Linked DNA regions of Homo sapiens: all the other regions are linked to region 2. The links are contacts of gene promoters, found by promoter capture Hi-C in blood cells and fetal thymus (Javierre and others, 2016). All regions are on one chromosome and are shown on one strand. The core of a region is centred on a gene start or on the middle of the fragment in contact, and the rest is flanking DNA. Distances in the headings are between cores, read along the strand shown.

Region 1 (3,472 bases), core at 825-3,324, 700 kb before region 2:
TTCTTAGAACTCAAGTCAATAAAAGTCAGGGGATGAAAGGAAAAGTTTCAAAGCAAACACACCCAGTTTTCTCTACCTCTACTTTCTAGTTTGGGCTGTTAGTTTTTACCTGGTGTGTTCTCCCTGTGCCTGTGGGAATCCTAAGCATTCTGCAAAGCTTTACTCATGTCTACCACCCTCTGAGAGCCTTTCCTGATTACTCTAAACCAGAAATGAATCCACCTCTTTATGCACTCCCATGGTATCTATTATTTATATTATTCATATGACATTTACTATTGAAATTAGGACTTTCCAGATATTTATATATAGATCTTATTTTTTCCTGGGTTATAAGTTCCTAGAGGATAGGTACTATGCCATAGGTATAGTAAGTGGAAGATGATGGAAGACAAATGATTATTGATGGGGTAAATGTATTAATGAAGGAATACAGAAGGTGGATGTGGGAGAGCTGGGAGTAGAGGAAAATCTCATTTAATTGAAAATGGGAAAAGATTTACTTTGAAAGAAGCCCCCATTTCCTTAAAATGGTGGTTCTGTGTTTGCTGAAGTTGACCAAATTCAAGGGTCTTTAAATATGATGATGTTCCCTTCCTTTCTCCTTAATTTAAAGTTATGTTCTCACACACAGGGGCCTGTTGTGGGGTGGGAGGAGAGGGGAGGGATAGCATTTGGAGATATACCTAATGTTAAATGACGAGTTACTGGGTGCAGCACACCAACATGGCACATGTATACATATGTAACTAACCTGCACGTTGTGCACATGTACCCTAAAACTTAAAGTATAAAAAAAAGTTATGTTCAATCTCTTAACTTGAAGGGGTAGGTTTAAGTCATTTCCTAAGAAGAATATTTGGCTAAAATCAAAAATGTCTCAAATGTTTATATAGGTTTTGGATGCTTGATACCTGAAAAGTTTTTAAAAGGTAAGCTGGGGAGATCAGGAAGCATTTTTGACCTTTGAGACTGGTTCTCAGAGGTTAATGTGACATCACCATGAGCCCCATTGAGGTCCTGGCAGTAGACAGAGGCCTGAGAGTGGAAGGACTTGGAATACCCAGGTGTATATCTGAAGAGAAAAAGTCATTTGGGGCATCTGGGAGAGTAGGTGTAGGGTGGGGAGACTCATCCTTCTTTTTCTCCTCCTTTTTCATCTCCTCCTTTCAATTCTCTTCCTCTTTGTATTTTTCATCTTTTCTTAGAATGCTGTTGAAGAGACAAAGCAACTCTCCTGTGTCCTAGAAAGCAAGGAATTCATCACAGATTTTAATAATATGTTCTTTCAGTCACTCATGGCCCCTATGTGATGTCGATGCATTTCCCTTCCAAAATGACTCACAGTTCCATGGAGAATATGGCCAGAGGTAAGCCCCTGTGCTCCAGAAGAAGGCCTCTTCCTTGGTTTTGGGTGGAAGGTCATGGAAGGCTCCTGGGGGAGGGGATGTCTGTGCTTTGTCTTACCGGACAGTATGAGTTACCCAGGCAAGGACGGTGGACAAGGGCATTTCAGGTGGCCTCTAGGAAAGAATCCTTGTTGGGAGGCTGTTGAAGTACAGAGATACAAGTGAAATGAAAGGATAGATGGAGGCCAGCTTAGGAAAGGAATGAGCAAGAGAATCCGGGAAGAGACCTTCTTAGCTGGGATTTCTGGAAGTTTCCTGTGACAGGATGCATGAGATGACCTTGCTCATGTCATGTATGCCTGTGACTTTGGTTAAGCCCCAGGACAAGGAGACTAAATAGAAATGTGCAGAACAAGAGACTAGATCGTGTTCTCATGGAGGGGAGGTGAGCCCAGTTAGGTAGAGCCCAGAGTTTGACTCCTCTCACTGGATGCCCTGCCTGCCATCAAGTTGATTCATGACAGTGGAACAATCTTGAAATTGACCCCAAAGTCCTTCTGTGGTAGGCAGAATAATGGCCTCCTAGATATGTTCGCCACCTAATCGCTAGAATTTGTAAACACGTTAGGTTACTTGGCAAGAGAGACTGAAAGTAGTGAATAAAATCAAAGTTGCTAATCAGACTACTTTAAAATAGGGAGATTATCCTTGATTATCCAGGTGGGGCCAACATAAGTGTACGGCTCTTAAAAGCAAGAAGAGTCTGTCAGAGTGATGTGATTTGAGAAAGACTTAACTGGCCATTGCTGATTTTGAATATGGAAGGAGTCCACGAGCCGGAAATGAGGGCGGCTTCTACAGTCTGGAAACAGATTCTCCAGTAGGACCTCCGGAAAGACGTGCAGCTTTGCAGGCACTCTATTTCAGTCTGGTGAGACTTCTGTCAGCCTCTGAGCTCCAGAACTGTCATAGGATTCACTTTTGTTGTTTTAAGCCACTAAATTTGTGGTAACTTGTCACAGAAGCAGTAGAAACCTAATAACCTTCCTAGTGCTGGAGGCTCTTGGGAGCTCTTGAGGAAGGGAGCCTCAGATGAAGAATAAAATCTCATTTACCATTCCCTCATTTAAATATATTCCTACTTGTCATGTCAGCATCCTCAATCAAAGGCTAGCTTTTGATAAAGAGGCACTGAGCTGGGCGTGGTGGCTCACGCGTATAATCCCAGCACTTTGGGAGGCTGAGGCAGGTGGATCACTTGAGGTCAGGAGTTTGAGACCAGCCTGGCCAACATGGTGAAACCCCGTCTCTACTAAAAATACAAAATTAGACGGGCGTGGTGGCGGGCTCCTGTAATCCTAGCTAATGGGGAGGCTGAGGCAGGAGAATCGCTTGAACCCAGCAGGTGGAGGTTGCAGGGAGCTGAGGTTGTGCCATTGCACTCCAGCCTGGGCAAAAAGAGTGAGACTCCATCTCAAAAAACAAAGCAAAACAAAACAAACAACAACAAAAAAGAGCGACTGAGATATATGGAGAAAGAACTCAGGATTCCATTCATCTGGGGTTGACTATCACATAGAGTATATGCAATATTGGATAAGTGATTTAACCTCTCATAATCTCAATTTCCTCTTGTTGAGAAAGGAAAATACTATTTCACAGATTTCTTGTGAGGAATAAATTAGACAATGTATGCTCCAAAACTTAGGGCCATCAAGCTACTTATGAATATTAGTGCAATCTGAATCAGTTCAGGACTCACCTCCTCCATGAAGCCTTCCTTGATTTCCCTGGTTCTTCTTGTTCTATGTCCTTTGCTCTGTCCCTCCAATACTTGGTCTTTGACTTGAATTTTTTTTTTTTTTTTTGAGATGGAGTCTTGCTCTGTCGGCCAGGCTGGTGTGCAGTGGCACGTGATCTCGGGGCAGTGCAACCTCTGCCTCCCAGGTTCAAGCGATTCTCCTGCCTTAGCCTCCCAAGTAGCTGAGACTACAGGCACATGCCACCACACCCAGGTAATTTTTGTGTTTTTAGTAGAGACGGTGTTTCACCATGTTGTTCAGGCTGGTCTCGATCTCTTGATCTTGTGATCCACCCCCTTGGCCTCCCAAAGTGCTGGGATT
Region 2 (3,273 bases), core at 431-2,930:
ACCTGAACCTTTTGAGTACAACCATCCTCTTCTCTTCAAACCCATTCCTGGCTCTCCTCATACAATCTTGTGTCTGGCGTAATGGTCTCAGACATTATTCTTTCCTTCAAGCTTAAAGTTCCAGAATCCAGTGCATAGAAGGAAATATTGTTTTCCAGAGGCCTAAGTAGCTTCACTGCCAAAATGTGCTTCCTAAACAAGTTTGTAAAGTGTTCGCTTGCATTTAAGAGAAGGGAAGGGAAGATGGCTTGATGCAGCAGGTAGGGAGTGGGAGAGGCAAACAATGAAATCAGGAGGCAGTGATATCAGGAATAAAAAGCTTTATTGTTACAGAGAAAATAGCTTCATAACTGAATTACAACACCTAGTTCTCCAAAGAGCTATGTCTGAGAGGGAAAGCCAGGCCAGAAAATATCACAAGCTAGACTTCAACCCTACAATGGAGTGAACATGGGCAGGATAAAGAGGGGAACTTAAGGCATTTCCGAAGTCCTTCCATGGGAAATGAGAGAAAAGAAGCCTCAGGCTGACACACATCTTCAGCACCTGGGATCTGCCAGTCCTTCTCCTCCGTGCTCCTCATGGCCCAGGTCAGCAGCAGCCTCCAGAGCTGTGGCAGCAGCCAGAGCCCCCAGAGCTGTGGCAGCAGCTGGAGCCCCCAGACTGCTGGCCACTGCCACTGCCACAGCAGCTGGAACTCTGAGGTCGGCGTCGGAGGGACTGGCGGGGCCTGTGGTGGCTCAGGCAGCAGCCACCACCCTCAGAGCTGCAGCAGCCCCCAGAGCTGGAACCACAGCAGGAAGAGACTGGAGGTGGGCATGGGGCTGAACACTGGGGAGGGCATTTTGGGGGACACTTGGGAGGACACTTAGGAGTACACTTGGGAGGGCATTTAGGGGTACATTTGGGAGGAGGCTGGCACTGCTGCTGGCTCTGCTGGCAGGACATCTCTGTAGAAGCTGAATAAAGCTGAAAGACAATACAAGCCCAAGGTCACTTCCTTGCCCTTAAAATTGAACTATAATTTCACAAGATTTTATCTCTAAGATGACCAGAATTTATTATTATGATTATTATTATTATTTGGGATGGAGTCTCACTCTGTCACTCAGGCTGGAGTGCAGTGGTGCTATCTCGGCTCACTGCAACCTCCACCTCCCGGATTCAAGTGATTCTCCTGCCTCAGACAGGTGTGCACCACCACACCCAGCTAATTTTTGTGTTTTTAGTAGAGACGGGATTTCAGCATGTTGGTCAGTCTCGAACTCCTGACCTCTTGACCCGCCCACCTCAGCCTCCCAAAGTGCTGGGATTACAGGCATGAGCCACTACTCCTGGCCTAAGATGAACCAGATTTTAAAAACCCAGTCTCCCAAGACCAGTAACAAGAATGATACAAATGATTTCCACCTAGTAACTCCATATTTTCAAATGAATAACTTGGAACTTCAGAAAGGCATCAGTCCTTCATTCCTTTTACCTACCTTCCACCCTCCCCTTCCAGAAGAACCTTCCCCTCCAAAATCCTTCTTTATCCTTGTCTTTCTTCAAGAATGGCCTCAACCTCCACCCAGGGGCTCTTTCTGCCCAAAACACCAGCACCAAGAGTTCATCCTGGTCCTGAGAAGCACTCTACCTGGTTCAGGCACTGCAGCAGATCACTCAGGAGACAGGTAGACTGAGGTGCTGTCAGAAGCTTCTGCCTTTTATACAATTCAGTCCTGACCTAGCATCAGGAGGTGCAGACCATGTGCGGGACGCTAGAAGCATCTTTCATAAAGGCATGGGTGACTCCCTCCCCTCGCATCCCAGGGACCCAGTTCCTCCCTGCATAAGCATCTCAAGTATTAACCCACAGGAAGATCCCCTGAGAACTGCAGGCCTCTAGGATGGTGAGGGAGCTCTGTGAATTGCACATGGCACCTATCTATCTCACAGGCAGCTCTGCTATGCCTTCTATTTTCTGAGCTGGGCCAATACGGCTCTACACCTCTGGAATGAACAGAAGTTCTGTTTTCTCTTTGGTATAGGAACTGAAGGAGAAAATTCCCAAGATGGAAATTAAATGGCCCTTTTTAGAATAATAATAGAGATCCAAAATAAAATTGTAGGCCCAAGCAAATAATCTAACATGATTTTTTTTTCATTTCTAGATGATGCCATAACCAGAACAAGGAAGGTTTGATATCTCAGTGATGTTATTTTAGGCAGATCTAATGCTGACAGTGTGGGTGGTTGGGCTTCTCTCCTTGCCTGAATTTGATGCTCCAAAACTGCTCACAAACAGTACCGATTCAGCACTAACAATGCCTTTAAAAGGGCAGAAGTCTAGGAATGGCTTATTTACTCGTGTTAAAGAAGGTGCCCTTGGCCAGCTCGAGGTGAGGCAGCAAAGACCAGGTGTATACTGAGGGTGGAGCAAAAGCTCTCCACTCATCTGGAGGTTTCCAGAAGTGAGGCACCAGTTCTGGTCATTCATAAGAGAAGAGCATCCAACCTGGGAAGGACCTCAGGAGAAGATTAATCTTTGGATGGAGAGGTGAAGAGGAGGAGTATATAGGTTTTAAAAGCCCATGGTGGGATCCAAAACATTTTCTCAGCAAACAATATTCTGAGGGAAAGTTGGGTCCCCAGGATAGTTATCAAAATTGACTTAGCTGGAAAGGGTGGCCAAAATATGGCATATTCACAATGAAAGCTGCAGTGAGAGAAAATAAGACTGGGAGAAAAAGGCAGTACCTTAGCTCCATGCTCTTTGAAATGGGCTGCAGTGAGAAGCATCAGCCCAGTTATAACACAGACCCTGGAGAGGGACATCCAGCATCAGTTCCCACCCTTGCTCTCTCCACCTGTGCAACCTCTGGCAAGTTACTTAACCATCACTGGAAAAGGGGGCTGAAAACATTCCTAATCCACTGAATAAAGAAATACAGATGAAGTTCTTAGCACAGTTCCTAGAACTGCAAGTTTAAAAAAGAAAAAACTAATCACTATGGCTATCCTTATTTCCATGAGAAAATATATGCTAAATTTCAAATTACTGACCTGCCAATTTTGAAACCAAAACTAATTTTTATGATATCAGAACTTAGACTCGATGTTTTCTTACAGCAAAATATTAAGAGTATTTGCTTGTCACTAGGGAATGAGATTATAAAGAAAGCATACTCATTATTTAAAAACACCAAAAAATAGGAAGAATTTTAAAATCACCTATAATCCCATCCCTAAAATATGGTTACTATTTTGCTATTTTCCTTCCCGTCATTTTTT
Region 3 (3,543 bases), core at 145-2,644, 790 kb before region 2:
CCCTTCTCTTGAAATTCTTTTCTCCTTTGGATCCTGTGACATGCATACTTTTTGTCCTCTGCCTCTCTTTACTGGTCTGTACTCCTGTGATATTGCTGAAGCTTGCATGGGCGTTGCTTGAGCTCACGGTTATTGCTGTCACTTCTAAAGTCTGAGGTTGTCTGACATAGATGCTGTGACTGCCAGAGGCAGAGAAGCATGGCTCATCTCTTATTCCAGTTCCACTGGTAGAAAGTGACCAGAAGGCAGCAGGCAAGGAAATCTGGAGGTATAATTTGCAGGCTTCTAGCCCCTAGAAAAATAGAGAAAAGCACAGAACAGGGATGGAGCTGAGAAATAATACATATGGAACCAGCACCTGCCAGCATCCTCATTTGACAGCTGGGGCTAGGTAACAGCATTTCTCTCAGAGGTTTTCTGTGAGAGTTATGAGTTAACAGATATAAAAAGCCTACTGCACACCTGATCAGGGGAGCTATGAGTAAATTCTGGTTGCCTTTTCTCCTGTGCTAGTGCACACCTGACTTGGTCAGGTGGGCCTCCCTTTGCATGTATCCTTCACTGCCTTCCAGCTCTTCTGCCTAGAGATGGAGTGGATAAAGTCTTAGCTTGGCTCTTGGAAGAAGTTTTCAACCTTGGCTGCTAAGAGATCTAGGTAGCTTCTCGCCTCTTAGGCACTCTGTTCTGGCAACTGGACCAGTTTCCTCTCTTCCAATCCAGTTATTCAGGCTCAAGTGGTCATATCATCCTTTCTGCAGGTGTCTGGTCTAGGTGGAGTTTCTTACTGACATTTTTGTGCTCCCTGTCCTCCTCTTTAAGGCAGCAGTCCCAGCCCTGCTGCCTTATCAGCTGCAGAGGGTCTGATCTCCTATGCCATCCAGAAGGGTCACCTGTCGCCCAGGTATATTCAGCCACTTCTTCTGAAAGAAGAGACCTGCCTGGACCCTCAACATCCAGTGATGCCCAGGAAGGGTAAGACCCTCCATGTCACCTCACCCTCCTCCTCGTCACCACCTAGCCATGTTTGGAGTCATGTTTGGGAGTGCTTTTTCCTGTTAGACCCCATGGGATTCTGGGACTAAGAACATCTCATGCCTACTTTGAGATCTGGAAAATTCTGAGAGGGCATCTTCCTGGCCTCCTCTCCATCCCATCAGAATGAGATAGCCATAGACTTCTTCTTAAAACAAATACATATGTACACAGATTTTCAGTCAGTCAACAAATATTTACTGCATAGCAGGCACTGTTCTAAGTACTGAGCATACAGCTGTGAACAAAACAGATGAAACTCTTCACCTTCAGGAAGCTTGCACTTCAGTGAGAAGAGACAGAAAATGAACAAAATAACAAAGAAATGTATATGATGTTAGACGGCATAAAAGCTATGGAGAAAAATAGAGTGGGAATGGAGTGGGATTAACATGTATACATAGTTGTGTCTATTATGTGGGGACACGAAGGACATACATAAGCTTACATACCTTTCTAAATGCAAAAACCAGCCATGGCCACAGCACAGCCACAGCTCGGAGAAAAGCTTGTGCTCACAGATGATGCTGACATCAGAGTGCATATAACAAAAAGCTGAGTAATAAAAATAATGCACTATTTTGAAGTGAATAAGCAGCAACCTAAAACCAGTCAAATTAATAAGCACTCCTGCTAGTGGACCTTTTCTTGGGATCAATGATATTTTTAGAATTAGCTTTTTAAAACTGTAAATCTCAAATAAAATGTTTCTTGCTTTTGGACAGGCACTATCTTCAATAATGATAATTTCTTAATATTTGTACAGTTCTCTCTAGATTTCAAGTTGTTTCCAAATATGTGTGATCAGTTCGGAGAGTCCACTGACTTCCGCGTAGTAGCCCTGTTACATAAGCGCACATACCTGCATATATATTTGCAATGCATGGTCTTTTGAAGACAATGACCATGCCTCTGTATAACCCACAGCCCTTTCCCTTCTGCTTATACGCTGATTTCTATTGGTATCAGGCCTGTAGATTTTTGCCTCAGCCCCTTGGCTCCAGCCATCTGAATCAGAAACCTCCCAACTGGACTTCCCCAGAATCCCAAAGCTGATATTACATTAGGATGTGCCCGTGGGTGCTGGAGGCCTGGGAGAGGCTGAGGAATAATCCAGCCTGGAGTTGAGTGATTGCTCACAGAGAGGCAAAAAAAATTCCTACTTCCTTGGCTTTTCATTTTACCACAGTTTGCCCCAACATCATCAAACGATCTGCTTGGGAAGCCAGAGAGACACACTGCCCTAAAATGAACCTCCCAGCCAAATATGTCATCATCATCCACACCGCTGGCACAAGCTGCACTGTATCCACAGACTGCCAGACTGTCGTCCGAAACATACAGTCCTTTCACATGGACACACGGAACTTTTGTGACATTGGATATCAGTAAGTGGGATCAATGCCAAAAGAACCCTCTTTTTCTTCAGGATTGTAGGAAGGAAGGCTGTGGGAGGGAACTGATGTTTCCTGAGCCTCTCCTTTGGGCTGGGTGGTTTCCATAAGGCATCATATTTTATTTTTGCAAGATTGGGCTGAGGATCATTCAGAGCATAGCTAATGGTCAGTTACCTCGCTTGGACGTATCTCCACAAGTGGTTGGGAAGATTCTGAAAAGAAGGCATTAGAAGCCTAGTGATAAAGCAAGACTGTGATACCCTCAGGGAAGGCCATGAAGGGTTGTACCTTTTTAATGCAATCCCTTCTAACCTGTCAGAGACAAAGGCCTTGCTCACTCCTATCTCAGTCTGCCCAGCTCCAAACTTGCTCTCTCCGATGTTAGAATCCTGCTATTCCTCTGGTGTTACTTACCTCATTTTATAGATGTAGGAACTTTTAACCTCTCTGGGCCTCTTTTGTCTCATCTCTACAATAGGGACAATGCTTTATCTGTTTGAAGACAGGGAGCAAGATCAAAACATTTTCTTTTGGTACCTTTAATGCCAGGTCTGTAATAAAGAAACACATTAAACTAATGGAGTAGAAGAAGCTGCTTGGAAGATGTCTTGGAATTTTCAAAGGAAGGATTTAGGGCTAGAGTATAATGTATTTCAATTATTCATCTGTGACTTAATCACAACAAATCTTACAAAGTCTCAGGTAGATGTGCTTTTGCACATGTGTTGTTCTGGGCCTACTATCTCTCCTTTTAACTCCTGTTTTAAAAGCAGCCTTTGCAAACAGGAGGGAACTCTTGCTTCACTTTGCAGGATTTTCCATAGGCTTTCTATGGTTATTTAGCACAGGTAACAAGAAATTGACTAAAAATCTGGAAATTCCACATGGAAAATGCCAGAAGGTGAGGGAATGTTTGTTTTCCTCTTTCACTCAGTCTTTAGAGACTCCATCCCCGTTCCTTGACTTTTCAAAACCTGTTGCAATATCCTTCTGCTCCAGCCTCATGATATGTCACCTGTAACCCTGATATGGACTGTAATCAGGACAAAGCACCCACTCACACATTATTTTCTAGTTTTTTAATCAATAGTTATTGGATAGCTACTATATGCCT

Evidence for each region. Contacts are between HindIII fragments. The CHiCAGO score rates a contact against its expected background, and 5 or more counts as called.
Region 1: a fragment that was not itself captured here is called in contact with the fragment with the promoter of LCE5A in region 2 in 1 of 17 cell types (M2 macrophages); the score reaches 5.7 in M2 macrophages.
Region 3: a contact is called between a fragment that was not itself captured here and the fragment with the promoter of LCE5A in region 2, in 1 of 17 cell types (megakaryocytes). The highest score is 5.3, in megakaryocytes.

What each region holds. Positions count from the first base shown.
Region 1 is chr1:153,213,355-153,216,826 of GRCh38, reverse strand. No RefSeq gene overlaps it. Among named protein-coding and RNA genes, the nearest start is that of PRR9, 2.5 kb to the left of the region's middle. The HindIII fragment of the contact is 3,829 bases long and covers 160-3,472 here.
Region 2 is chr1:152,509,210-152,512,482 of GRCh38, reverse strand. It overlaps LCE5A (late cornified envelope 5A), which reads right to left and starts at 1,680. Exons shown (of 2, transcript NM_178438.5): 1 at 1,485-1,680; 2 at 306-969. The coding sequence starts at 948. The coding sequence ends at 592. The HindIII fragment of the contact is 1,377 bases long and covers 322-1,698 here.
Region 3 is chr1:153,301,286-153,304,828 of GRCh38, reverse strand. PGLYRP3 (peptidoglycan recognition protein 3) reads left to right here. Exons shown (of 8, transcript NM_052891.3): 5 at 820-972; 6 at 2,222-2,420. Among named protein-coding and RNA genes, the nearest start is that of PGLYRP3, 9.9 kb to the left of the region's middle. The HindIII fragment of the contact is 166 bases long and covers 1,312-1,477 here.